Regions from separate parts of the Homo sapiens genome. Here region 2 is linked to region 1. Evidence: promoter capture Hi-C in human tissues and cell types (Jung and others, 2019). All regions are on one chromosome and are shown on one strand. The core of a region is centred on a gene start or on the middle of the fragment in contact, and the rest is flanking DNA. Distances in the headings are between cores, read along the strand shown.

The links. Contacts are between HindIII fragments. The study calls those that stand out against the background at their distance.
Region 2: a fragment that was not itself captured here is called in contact with the fragment with the promoter of ACIN1 in region 1 in 1 of the 25 tissues and cell types used here (hippocampus).

The regions. Positions count from the first base shown.
Region 1 is chr14:23,091,692-23,097,684 of GRCh38, forward strand. It overlaps ACIN1 (apoptotic chromatin condensation inducer 1), which reads right to left and starts at 3,445. Exons shown (of 19, transcript NM_001386863.1): 1 at 3,284-3,445; 2 at 1,788-1,853. The coding sequence starts at 3,421. It overlaps C14orf119 (chromosome 14 open reading frame 119), which reads left to right and starts at 3,814. Exons shown (of 2, transcript NM_017924.4): 1 at 3,814-3,928; 2 at 5,967-5,993. The coding sequence starts at 5,968. RefSeq lists enhancers at 3,186-3,495, 3,201-3,724, 3,536-3,615, 3,636-3,845, 3,725-4,248. The HindIII fragment of the contact is 4,223 bases long and covers 2,194-5,993 here.
Region 2 is chr14:24,054,282-24,060,792 of GRCh38, forward strand. It overlaps CARMIL3 (capping protein regulator and myosin 1 linker 3), which reads left to right. Exons shown (of 40, transcript NM_138360.4): 4 at 1-20; 5 at 115-230; 6 at 430-527; 7 at 785-855; 8 at 956-1,029; 9 at 1,262-1,337; 10 at 1,420-1,508; 11 at 2,018-2,112; 12 at 2,341-2,427; 13 at 2,634-2,743; 14 at 2,886-2,963; 15 at 3,522-3,598; 16 at 3,679-3,783; 17 at 3,874-3,943; 8 more. Among named protein-coding and RNA genes, the nearest start is that of CARMIL3, 5.5 kb to the left of the region's middle. The HindIII fragment of the contact is 4,302 bases long and covers 2,969-6,511 here.

The sequences.
Region 1 (5,993 bases), core at 2,195-4,694:
TGGCTTGCTGCAACCTCCGCCTCCTGGGTTCAAGACATTCTCCTGCCTCAGTCTCCTGAGTAGCTGGGATTACAGACATGTGCCACCACAACCAGCTCATTTTTGCATTTTTAGTATAGACGGGGTTTTGCCATGTTGGCCAGGCTGGTCTCAAACTCCTGACCTCAGGTGATCTACCCGCCTTGGCCTCCCAAAGTGCTAGCATTACAGGCGTGAGCCACAATGCCCGGCCTCATATCCAGGAAACATTTTATCAAACAACTCCAAAATTCAAGTATAGTATTTAAAAGTATGAAATCAAGAGACTAAGAAAAGGGATATCCATTCAGCATTTAGACAAAGTTATAACTCCATTTTGTCTGGGTGAAAGGAAATCCTTGGTAACAGGAGCTTATGCCTTTTCCTATTTTTTTTTTTTTGTAATACAGATTCCCAAGTTGCCCTTCTGACCTCCAGCTTTCTCTTCACAAGTTCTCCTCCCTAGAACCTTCTTGCTTAGCAAGTCCTATTTAGAACTGAAAAAGCAAAAAAACCTGAATACTTTCTATGTTATTAGTCATGTTTCCTAAACATAGTAAAGGTTTATTTTCACCTAAAGTAGAAATGAGTCTCTTGGCACTCAATGGACATTGTTGAAGGGTGGGTTGCATGTGTATTACAGAATAGGCATGTTTGCTGCACAAACCCGGTGTTAATAAAAGCAAAGCTTCAAAGACTAACATGCAATGGGCAAAAGGAATACAATTAAGCTGATTAACTTATGCAGTTTCTTATGCTTGTTAAAGTACTTAATTGAACCTCTGAATGCTGGCTAGATTATGATACTTACAGCTTAATGAGGTGATAACAAAGGAGGAGGAGGGCTCTCTTGTTTTCCACAGTATCCTGAGACTTCATCTAGTACTGAGGCTGCACACTATTGCTTTAACAAAGACTTGGATTTTTCCTTTAAGTATATGACACATTATAATGAGGGGATTTTTAAAAGCTGAAAGAAACTTTAAGAGACTGTGCAGCCTAATAATTTTTGGATTTTAACTGTGGAATAATTTAAAAATTTTATGCAGAAACTCAATAGTTAAAAAGTAGATCTAATCTAGTTTAAGAGAGGAGTATGAGCCTTGCTTACTTGGGAAAAAGGTATTTCCCCTAGGAAGCTCCCCAAAGCAGCTCCACAAAACCCTAAGAGAACAGTTATAAACCCATGGGTTTAGTCTGTTTCTCATATTACAGATAAGGAAATGGAGAAGACCAAGGCCTCCAAAGGTTGTTTCTTATCCTAAGTAAAGAGGTATTAGTAATGTTTATGAGTAAGTGCACTGAGTTAGTAGTTAACACTAGTAATGGTGGGTGACTTACACAGGATTGAACCCTTGGAAAATCTACATCAACAAGAGTTCTTAATCAGCAACTATTTCCCTACACTGCCATATTGGTGATCTACTTCATATCTATACTCAAAGACATCAACTACCTTTCCTAAATTCATGGCAGATAAATGACTTCAGATCTCTGTACTACACGTAATTAATGGAAGCCACACCTTTCTACACATGCCATTTCAATTATTATAAACTAACAGTGCCTCTGATTCTGTTCTTTACTCCAGGCCCTTGTATACAACTGGGTTGATTAGAATTCAACTGTCCTGGTTTGAGAACATTTCTGACTAAGAGAACTTAGGAAAACAGTCATGAGGACTTAAGCATCAAATATACAACACCACGTCCTTCCATGTGTCTGGATATCCAAAGGGCCCACTCCATTGAATACACCTTCTTTCTCACCTGGGAATTTGGCTGGAATGCAGCATGGGGTGTTGAGTGTTTCTGTAAATTTTCTAGCATTAGAGCCTGGTATAGAGAAGGGTAAAAGTCAGAAATGATGAGGAAAAAAAAGAAAAACAAACCCCCACCTCTACCACAACCTCTAAATTAAACGCAATGACTTAAATACACACAATTAAACTGTATTCCTTTTCCAGGGACCTGAAAACCCTTTACTAACACTGTTCTCATTCATCTTCAGAAGACCCATAAAGGTAGCCATGGTTACTGTTACTAAATGTACAGATATAAAATGCAGGCACACAGAATCAGTGACCTGGCTATGTCATAATATCAGTAATAGAACCAGTACTAAAATCCCTATTATCTTCTGCACTTTCGCCAAGTGCCCCTTCTAAATCTGATCATGCATGTAAAATTACTTAAAATACTCAAACCAGCCATGGGGCTCCTGGTTTTTGCCTGACGGAATTACTTGGTCAAAGGGTTACCCAGTACCAGGGTCAATTTGTATAATTTCCAGTACTGTGGCACCTAGATTTATCAAATTTATAAAATTTTCAAAGAGGAAGCTACAGAAGAAAATGACCACAGACCCTGTAAACTGTGGTCTAACCTAGTCTATCCACACAAACACACACACACAAACACACACACACAAAACTATCAGCTTCTGTATAAGCAACGGTCTGCCAACTCAACCCTGGAGCCAACCCAGACCTAATCTGCACTACCTGCCACGTATCCTGTTGAACTCTAATTAAAACCAAGACATCCTCATCTTCCCTTCTTTAAACCAAACCTATACACTTGAATCGAGCTACACCTACCTCATGACAATCCCACCTTAATCTACTCAAACCGATTCAAAATCCCCAATATATATCAACCTGCCTCGCCTCTCTCACCAATATTCACCAAACTCTTAACCACCCAAATTGCCACTAGATGCCACTAAATTAGAGACCTCTCTCTCATCAAGTCCCTTCAAATAAAGGTCTCTCTTCATCTCACCTCCTCATCTAATCGAGCAGACATTTTACCCTACCCCAGTCCTATTCGTGCAGATACCGATACCAACCCCATCCACCCCTTCGCGCAACTATACCCCTAACTCCGACCCAGCCCAACTCGCCCCCCTCAGGCCAGCAACGCCGTAGGTTGTAGTGGGATTTAACTCCTTCTGCAGCGCATGCGCCGAAACCACAGATACAAACAAGGAGGGGGTGGGGGAAGGAGGAAGGAGCTTAAGACACTCCTGGAGAGTAGTGCACACCCTCCCATTTGGGCTCGCGCTGCTGCCGTTAAGGCGGGAACCGGCGCGATCTCCATTCCAGCGCGAACCTCATCAACCACCGTGCGCGCGGATCCAGAGGCTCGCGCTGGCGGCCTGAGCGAGCTCGCGCCGAGCCCGGATACTGCGCCTGCGCCGCGGCAGAGGCTCGTCTCTACCGGGTCCGCTCTCCTCCGACACCCCAGCAACGCCGACTCCTCACCCCTTTGAGCCGCTTGACCAGGGCACTCTTCTGCCCGCTCTTGGCTAGGCCTCGCTGCTCCAGTGCGGCCTTCAGGTCGGTCACCCGCAGCGCCTGAAGAGGCTTCCCGTCCAGAGTCACCTCCTCCAGCTCCGCCATCTTGCGTGAGGTACTCGGGTCCGTCCCGACGGCTTCGGGCATCTTCGGTAATTTCCGCCAACGCCCTTCGAACGTACCGAGATGACCCCGCCCACTGCCATACTCTACCCCTCGATTACCACTCAGAACTCCCCGGGTTCCTCCGGATGTCCTCGGATGTTTCCGTCTCCACATCGTTACCAATCAATTCTTTCCATCCGCCCTGCAGCGCCCCTTTTCTCGCCCTGCTTTCAGGCTCGGTTTTCTTCGTCTTGCCGAAGCTTTGAATCGAATATATTCGGAAACCCTCGACCCTGGTATAACCATAATCGGAGATGTTCGTTTATTTCCGGACCTAGAGATGAGGCGCTGGGGCGCTTGGGTGTTTGGGGCGGGTCCGAGGCCGGAAGTGCGTGGGCTGCCGGGCTGGCCCAGCTTAGGGTTTTCAGGAAATTTGGAAGCTGCCGCAGTAGTTGGAGTCTAAGGACTCGTGACAATCTTCGGGTGCCCTTCGAGAGAAAAGGGGAGGTAAGCGGGGTAGAAGTACCTCTATGGGCCGGGTCAGACTCGGTGTTTGCGGATTACCTTAATAGGGCAAGCCCCCCACTCCTTAACGCAAACAGCTTCTGCCCTCTGTCCTCTGAATCATAGCCACTCCCATCTTAGGCTTTTTTTGGGGAGGGGCGGGGGGCTGGTGCGGAATCGGAATAACAAGCTCCGTGGGGGTGCGCAAGAAGCATCGCCGTGTCTTCGGACCCAGACTATGAACTGATCTATGACGCTGAACTTGAGTTTGAGTTTGCCTTGGAAGCCATGTGGCAAGATTCTGGGAAAGTTCTTCCTTGCTCCGCAGAAGAGAGTAAGTTCCCTTGGAGGAACTGCTTCCTGTAGGGCAAGAACTGGAAAATGCAAGCGCCCTGAACTTTTTTGGTACTTGAACTAATATTAATTGTTTAGGGGCTTCTTTCTTTGTCACTACCAATCCTCCAACTTGATGCAGAAGAAACACAAACAGTAAAATAGGTCACAGACAAATAGTTTAGAGATTTAAGAGATACGTTAGAGATTTAAGAGACTGAAAACTATTAAAGTCAAATTGGCTGATCTTTCCGTTGCATTCATGATGCAAAATCAGTGGCAAGGTGCCGGGCGCGGTGGCTTACGCCTATAATCCCAGCACTTTGGGAGGCCGAGGCGGGCGGATCACTTGAGGTCAGGAGTTGGAGACCAGTCTGGCCAATATGGTGAAACCCCGTCTCTACTAAAAATACAAACAAATTAGCCGGGCGTGGTGGCGTACGCCTATAGTCCCAGCTACTCGGGAGGCTGAGGCAGGAGAATCGCTTGAACCCAGGAAGCAGTGGTTGAGATCACGCCATTGCACTACAGCCTGGGTGACAGAGCAAGACTCCGTCTCAAAAAAAAAAAAAAAAAAAAAAAAAATTGCAAGGCACCAATAGATACCATACTAAAAAAAAAAAAAAATTTTTTTTTTGTCACTCCACTCTGGGTCCCTCCACTCTGACGCAGGCTGGAGTGCAGTGGCGCGATCAGGGCTCACTGCAGCCTCAACCTCCCGGGCTCAGGTGATGCTCCTACCTCAGTCTCCTACGTAGCTAGGACTACAGGTAGGCACCTCTACGCTCAACTAATTTTTTTATTTTTTGTAGGGATGAGGTTTTGCCATGTTGCCCAGGCTGGTCTCGAACACCTGGGCTCAAGCGATCCTCTTGCCTCGGCCTCTCAAAGTGCTGAGATTACTTTGGAAGTGCAAGAACCACCGCGTCTGGCCCATACTAAATATTAAGGACAATTGTTTAAAGACATGGATTGTCATAAAATAGTATAACACTTGTTAGATCTCTAAGCCAACAAACCAACTGGACTCTTTTTTAAGAACGTCTCAAACACCCGGGCTTCTGGTTCTTTCATGCGTTACCTTATTTTGAGCAAGGTCCTTACTCTGCTTTTTAACTTTTCCTGGTGCTTTACAGGAAATGTAAGGAGGTAACGGATGTTATGGAGTTGTTGGCATATTTCAGAGGCTTATATGCACATTGAAGGCTCTTTCATCATAAATAATGTTTTTTCTTTCTTCCCCCACTGTTGATAGCTGCAAAACAATTAGCATCAGCCTTGACCAGCTGCACGTACTAGATTTTAAAATGTGTGCATTTTCATTTTGGAGAAGATGTAATGGACCAACATTAATCATTGTTTTTTTCTTTACCCAACCTGGCACATAGAAGTAAGAGGAAGAGAATGAACAAGAAATATATTGGTTATTTTTAGGTTCTTTATAAGAAAGATGGAGGAAGACAGTGGGTGGGGAAGAATGGGTTTGAAAAAGGCAGGCAAATAGGAAATGAAGTTATTTTTGGTGATTTTTCTAAGGTAGTTGGATAATAATCTAAATAAAGGACTCTTATTATTTTGGGTCTTTGAATTCATAAAAAGTAATTTTCTCTGTAGATGCTAATTGAGTGTGGTAAGATGTCTTGTTGCTTGAAAGTTGTATTTTCGTTGCTCTACCTGGAGAGCATATAACAGTGCTTTTATGTTTCAGGATGCCACTGGAGTCATCCTCTTCAAT
Region 2 (6,511 bases), core at 3,870-6,369, 960 kb after region 1:
ACACGCTCAGTCAGAATCAGGTGAGTACCAGGGCTTTGGGCCCCACTACTGGGCCAGCTGGAGGAGGGAGCAGAGAGGAGGGAGTCTGAGGCTCTGACGCTTCGTCTCCCCCAGATCCTGGTGGAGACGGAGCGTGGCATGGTGAGCATGCGACTGCCATCAGCTGAAAGTGTGGACCAGGTGACACGACATGTGAGCTCTGCCCTGTCCAAGGTCTGCCCTGGCCCTGGGTGAGTGGCAAATAAGGGGTCTCTTAAGGCATTAGATGAGAGGGAGAGTTCATCCCTTCCTCCTTCCCCTGGGCCAGGGCTGAGAAGGAGAGCTCTCATGTCCCCACTCCTGGTTTTTCCTGGGATGCAGGAGCTATAACGTGGGAAGAACTGAGAGCCTCTTTCCAGCCCTCTCTGGAATGACTTGTTTCTTTTCCAGGTGTTTGATCCGGCGTGGAAACGCAGACACCCCAGAGGGGCCCCGAGATACATCCCCCAACTCTGAGACTTCCACATCTACCACCCACAGTGTCTGCGGTGAGCAGGGGCAGATGTGAGGAAAGTAGGCGCTCCACCATCTTGCCCCATGATCAGAGCCCTTTGTGCACAGGGTGTTGCCTGGGCGGGCGGGCTTTGCCTGCCTGAAGGACTCCCAGCTCCCAGACCTCAGGAAGTTCATGGCATAGCAAGAACCAAGAGCACTGGCACATAAAGTGACCTTGACTGTTCTTGAACCCCAAGCCTATTCCCCATCTCCTTACCCTCATGGAATCAGCCTATCTCCTGCCCCACAGGTGGCTTCTCTGAGACCTACGCTGCTCTGTGTGACTACAATGGGCTACACTGCCGTGAGGAGGTTCAATGGGTATGTTGGGCAGGGACCCCATAGGGAACAGGTGGGACCTGGAGGGAAGGGGCTAAGAAGGAAGTGGGGAGCAGGTGTGAGCCAGTTCCACCTCTCCAAGGATGTGGACACCATCTACCATGCTGAAGATAACCGGGAGTTCAATCTTTTGGATTTCAGCCACTTGGAGAGCCGGTAAGCAGATGGGGCAGAGACTCCACCCTCAAATTCCCAAATTCAGCCCAACCCCAGCCCTTCCCAGGAGTGCCCTTCTGGTCCCACAGCCCCAGCTCTATCTCCCCAACTCCATCCCATCCCCATCTACCCATTTAGGCCTTCCCCAGCCCAACCACCCTATCCTTGGTCTCTTCTTTTCTGACCCAACCACCTGCTCACCACTTTCCTGCCCCCTTCCATATCCCCACAGAGACTTGGCCCTAATGGTAGCAGCCCTGGCCTACAACCAGTGGTTCACCAAACTCTACTGCAAGGACTTGCGGCTGGTAGGAACTGGGAGGGGCTGGTGAGGTGGGAGAAGTAGTGCCCCCCTTGGCCCCTGATCACAAGACCCCCCTCTGTCCTCAGGGCTCTGAAGTGCTAGAACAGGTGCTACATACCCTAAGCAAGTCGGGGAGCCTCGAAGAGCTGGTGCTGGACAACGCCGGGCTTAAGACGTGAGGCCAGTCTCCTCCTTGGGCAGTAGTGCACCCTTGATGTAGTTTTAGGGTCCCAGAACCTCAGAGCATGATGCAGGCCTCTGGACTATCTTATCCAGTGCCTCTCTCTACAGAAGAGGAGACCAAGGCCAAAAGAGGGCACAAAGCAAGTCGGAGGTCAAGCTAGAACTCAGACCCAAGCCTCCTGACGCCCAGCTCCATGGCCTTTCCCCAGGATGTTCCATGCCCCGTCCTCTTTTTCCATTAACTACCAAGCAGGGTGGGCTGCTCCAGTCTTGAGGACCCAAAGCTGACCTTTGTCTCAGCACAACTTCCTAAGGTGTGGAATGCCCCCAGGTACTCCGGAGTGGTGACAAGCTCCCTGGCAGGCCCTGAGCTGTTCCCCTGTTGTGGGGGCCTCTGACCATGCAGCCCCAGCCAGGCAGTCAGGTAGAGGAGGAGGGGAAGCCCAGAGGCTGGGACCTGGGGCTCAGCTCAGGACAAATCCTTCCTCCCCTTCCCTGAAGGGACTTTGTCCAGAAGCTGGCCGGGGTGTTTGGGGAGAACGGGAGCTGTGTGCTGCATGCCCTCACTCTGTCCCACAACCCCATCGAGGACAAGGGTGAGCCCCAGCCCTGAATCCTGTCCCCATCCCAATGCAGACCCCTGTCCTAGCCCAGAGCCCAACCAGGTCTGAACAGCAGCTCTCCAGCCTGATTCCAGCCCCTGCCCTGACACCTCCATCCTTGACCCAAGGCCTGTACCCTACTCGAGCCCCCAACCTGACTCTGTGCCACCTGCACCCACTGCCCTGCCCCTCACTGGGCCCGTTTCTCTCTCCACTCCCCAGGTTTTCTCAGTCTGAGCCAGCAGCTCCTCTGCTTCCCCTCTGGCCTCACCAAACTGTGCCTGGCCAAGACTGCCATTTCCCCTCGAGGTACTCGCACCAAGGACCCCTGACCTCTGACCCTACCCTGGTGCTGCCTGGGGTGTTGAGCTCCAGAGGTACACCCACACATTCACACACCACCTCAGGGATGGAAGAGTGAAAAGGAGCCACGTTTGGGGAGAGGGGAAGAGTTATGTGCTGAGGGGAAGAGGTGGGGCTAGGGGCCAACCCAGCCCAGTGCCCGCTGTGCTCAGGGCTCCAGGCACTCGGCCAGACCTTCGGGGCAAACCCAGCATTTGCCAGCTCCCTTCGATACCTGGACCTGAGCAAGAATCCTGGGCTCCTCGCCACGGATGAGGCCAATGTGAGTCCTCAGAACAGCCTCAGCCCCCTGCAGAAAGCATGCTTAAGCTTCAGGAGCTGGGAGGCCTTCTGCCCCATGGCCTCTGGGGGTGGCGAGACTCCATCATCCCTTCCCCTGCAACCCCTCTTCCTTCCTACTCCAGGCCCTCTACAGTTTCCTGGCCCAACCCAACGCCCTGGTGCACCTGGACCTGTCAGGAACTGACTGCGTCATCGACTTGGTGAGGAGTTGGTGATGGGAAGCCAGTCTGAGGTGATTTGGGGAAGACCACAGTGGGCCTCGGTCTCACCCCCTATCCCTGAGTACACAGGCGGGCAGAGCTGTCTAGATGACTTCAGGTTCAGCTGAAGTATAAAGCAATGTCCATAGTTCATACCTGTGTGGCACTTTATCCAGGTCACAAGCTTGTGCTTGCTGTGCTTAAAAGCCAGCCCTTGCTCCCTTCCCCAGCTGTGCACCCTGGCTCCACCAGGGGAATGGATGCTTTTCCTAACTTGAACAAGGCACCTTAGGAGTCAGTGGTGGCCCTGGCTTTACACATCCACTGCCTGTGAGCAGCTTCATGCCCCTGGAAGCCAGGCAGGGAGTAGACCCATGTTCCACAGGGGAGAAAACAGAGACTTCAAGAATCTGAGTGGGCATCTCCAGTGGAGCTCACACAGGCTGACCACAGAGAATGAAGAGCCAGGAACCTCGATGGGGAGGGAGGGGGAGTCCTTTCCTGCCACCCCCTACCCCCTTCCAGCTCCCCTGAGACCCACCATATCTCCCCCCACAGCTTCTCGGTGCCCTGCTCCACGGCTGCTGCTCCCACCTCACCTACCTCAACCTGGCTCGCAACAGCTGCTCCCACAGGTGGGAGAGGAGGGGGAAGGGAGGACAGGGCAAGACATGGCCAACCCCCTCCCTCGCTGACCCCAGGGGTCTCTCCACAGGAAGGGTCGAGAGGCCCCGCCGGCCTTCAAGCAGTTCTTCAGCAGCGCCTACACACTGAGCCACGTCAATCTGTCGGCCACAAAGCTGCCCCTGGAGGCCCTCAGGTCGGGTGGGTGCAGGGTTGGGGGCGCATCCAAGGGAACCACGGGGAGCGGGAAGAGGTAAAGGAGGGCCTGCTGACCTCCCTCCCACAGGGCGCTGCTTCAGGGCCTCTCCCTCAACAGTCACCTCAGTGACCTGCACCTGGATCTCAGCAGCTGCGAGGTGAGCCCTCAGTCCCCAACCCCTCTGCCCGCCTCCGATCCATGTGCATTTCTCAGACCTAAGTCAAACCCTGGCTCCATCTAGCCTCTGTGCTGACCCTCTGCGACCCCCTGACCTGGCCACACCACCACTTTCCCCTCTCAGTCTGGCCTCTTTTCCAGAGGCCATTCATTCTCAGTCTCTAGTATCTCTGCCCTTAAAGCTTTGGGGTGGGAGATACCAGACTTTTCCACCAGAGGGCAGGAGCAAGCTGTCTTAGGAATAGCAGCCTTCCTGGCCGAAGGGAGGGAAGCCAGCTCTAGGGAAGGATCTGGTGTGGGGAAAGAGTCTCCCTGATTTTACACCCAGATCCTGGCATGACTTTGAGTTCTGGTGTGACTACTATATCCTAAGCATTAAAGGTGCCCTACCCCCACCCCAACCCCTGCCTTCCCTACCTCACCTTGTCCCTGCAGCTCCGTTCAGCGGGAGCCCAAGCCTTGCAGGAGCAGCTGGGAGCTGTCACCTGTGTAGGCAGCCTGGATCTGTCAGACAATGGTGAGTAGTGGTTCCTCCCTTCCCTGGGGCCAGGGGAGAACAGGGGCCTGGAGCATGCAGAAGCAGCCCTGATGGGACACCAGTCAGCCTCAGGCCTCCAGGCCAGGCCTCTCCCATCTGCTCACCAGGGTTCGACTCGGACCTCCTGACACTGGTGCCTGCACTTGGCAAGAACAAGTCCCTCAAGCACCTGTTTTTGGGCAAGAACTTCAATGTCAAGGCCAAGTGAGGCCCCCTTTCCATGCCCACAGACCCTCATCCCATCATTCACCCATCCTCTTGGCTCACCGTATTACCTCTGGCCACCTCTCTCCTCCTCCAATAGCATGACCCCAGCCCTTCCCCTCCTACTCTGAGCCCCGCCTCCCTGCAGGACCCTGGAGGAGATCCTCCACAAGCTGGTGCAGCTGATCCAGGAAGAGGACTGTGTGAGTGCCTGGGCCTGGGAGGGGACCTGCAGTCGGAGGAGGCTGTGGGGACTGGGTCCAACCGCCCCTTGCCCACACAGTCCCTGCAGTCACTGTCGGTGGCAGACTCCCGGCTGAAGCTTCGCACCAGCATCCTCATCAATGCCCTGGGCAGCAACACCTGCCTGGCCAAGGTGGATCTGAGCGGCAATGGCATGGAGGACATCGGGGCCAAGATGCTGTCTAAGGCCCTGCAGATAAACTCCTCCCTCAGGTGGGGCCCACACCGGGACCCCCTGACCTGGAGCCCCAGCCCCTCCCCATATGTACATAATCTCCCTGCTTTCCTTGATGCTCTGGACCCCAGCTTCCAGAAGACCCCCAGCCCCAGAACCATCTCTGAGTCAGCCTTATTGCCCCAAGAGGTTTGTGTCCCTGGCCCCTAGTAGGGACCCAGGAGGAGAGGTGCCAAACTGGTGCTTACCCTCCCCCCAGAACTATCCTATGGGATCGGAACAATACATCTGCCCTGGGCTTCCTGGACATCGCAAGGGCCCTGGAGAGGTGAGTAGACCATGGTCCTGCCCTGATCCAAGTCCCCAGCCTCCCTGTGCCTGGATCAGGCCTGAACTACTCTTGCCCCACCCTAGCCCCTTTGACCTATTTGCACAGAAATTTTAGGAAGGGCCATGGAAGACAGAAATGATGAGCAAGGGGGCTGGAGGGCTGCTCACCAACAGAGGAGGCAGGGGCCTCCCATCCTCACCTGTTCCCACCCAGCTGTGCCCCTGTGTCCCACAGCAACCACACGCTGCGCTTCATGTCCTTCCCCGTGAGCGACATCTCCCAAGCCTATCGCAGCGCGCCTGAGCGCACCGAGGACGTCTGGCAGAAGGTGCAGGGTGCTGTCCTAAGCAGGGTGGCACAGCAAGGGGCAGGGGGCAGCCCCCATCCCCAGGCCCTGACCCACCAACCCCATCATCTCCAGATCCAATGGTGCTTAGTGAGGAACAACCACTCCCAGACGTGCCCCCAGGAGCAGGCCTTCAGGTTGCAGCAGGGCCTGGTGACCAGCAGCGCCGAGCAAGTAAACGTTTCCCTCTGGGACACGGGGCATACCCGGGGCATGCAGGGCACAGTGTGATGTGATGGAAAATTGAGTGGGGGAGCATGAAGAGGCACTGCATGGTGCCTATCACTGGACTGAGCATGTGGGGAAGCAAAAAGAGAGGACATGCAGGATATGGGCTTCAAACATATGTGGGCGAACAGCAGGAGTGCACAGGACTCTGGGAGCTCAGCTGGGCATTCAAGAAGGCTGTAGCAATGGGGACCAGGCCAGCCAGAGACATCACCTCCACCACTGTCGGTGCCAGCACCAGTAGCACTGTCTAAGGGGTCCTACCTGCGAAGATGTGGAAGCAGGGGTCCCCTTGACACCCCTGCCACTGTGCTCCAGATGCTGCAGCGGCTGTGTGGACGAGTGCAGGAGGAGGTGCGGGCCCTGAGACTATGCCCCCTGGAGCCTGTGCAGGATGAGCTACTCTACGCTCGGGACCTCATCAAAGATGCCAAGAACTCCCGGGCGGTGAGCCCTCCACAGGCTACCCTTCCCCTGAAGTCT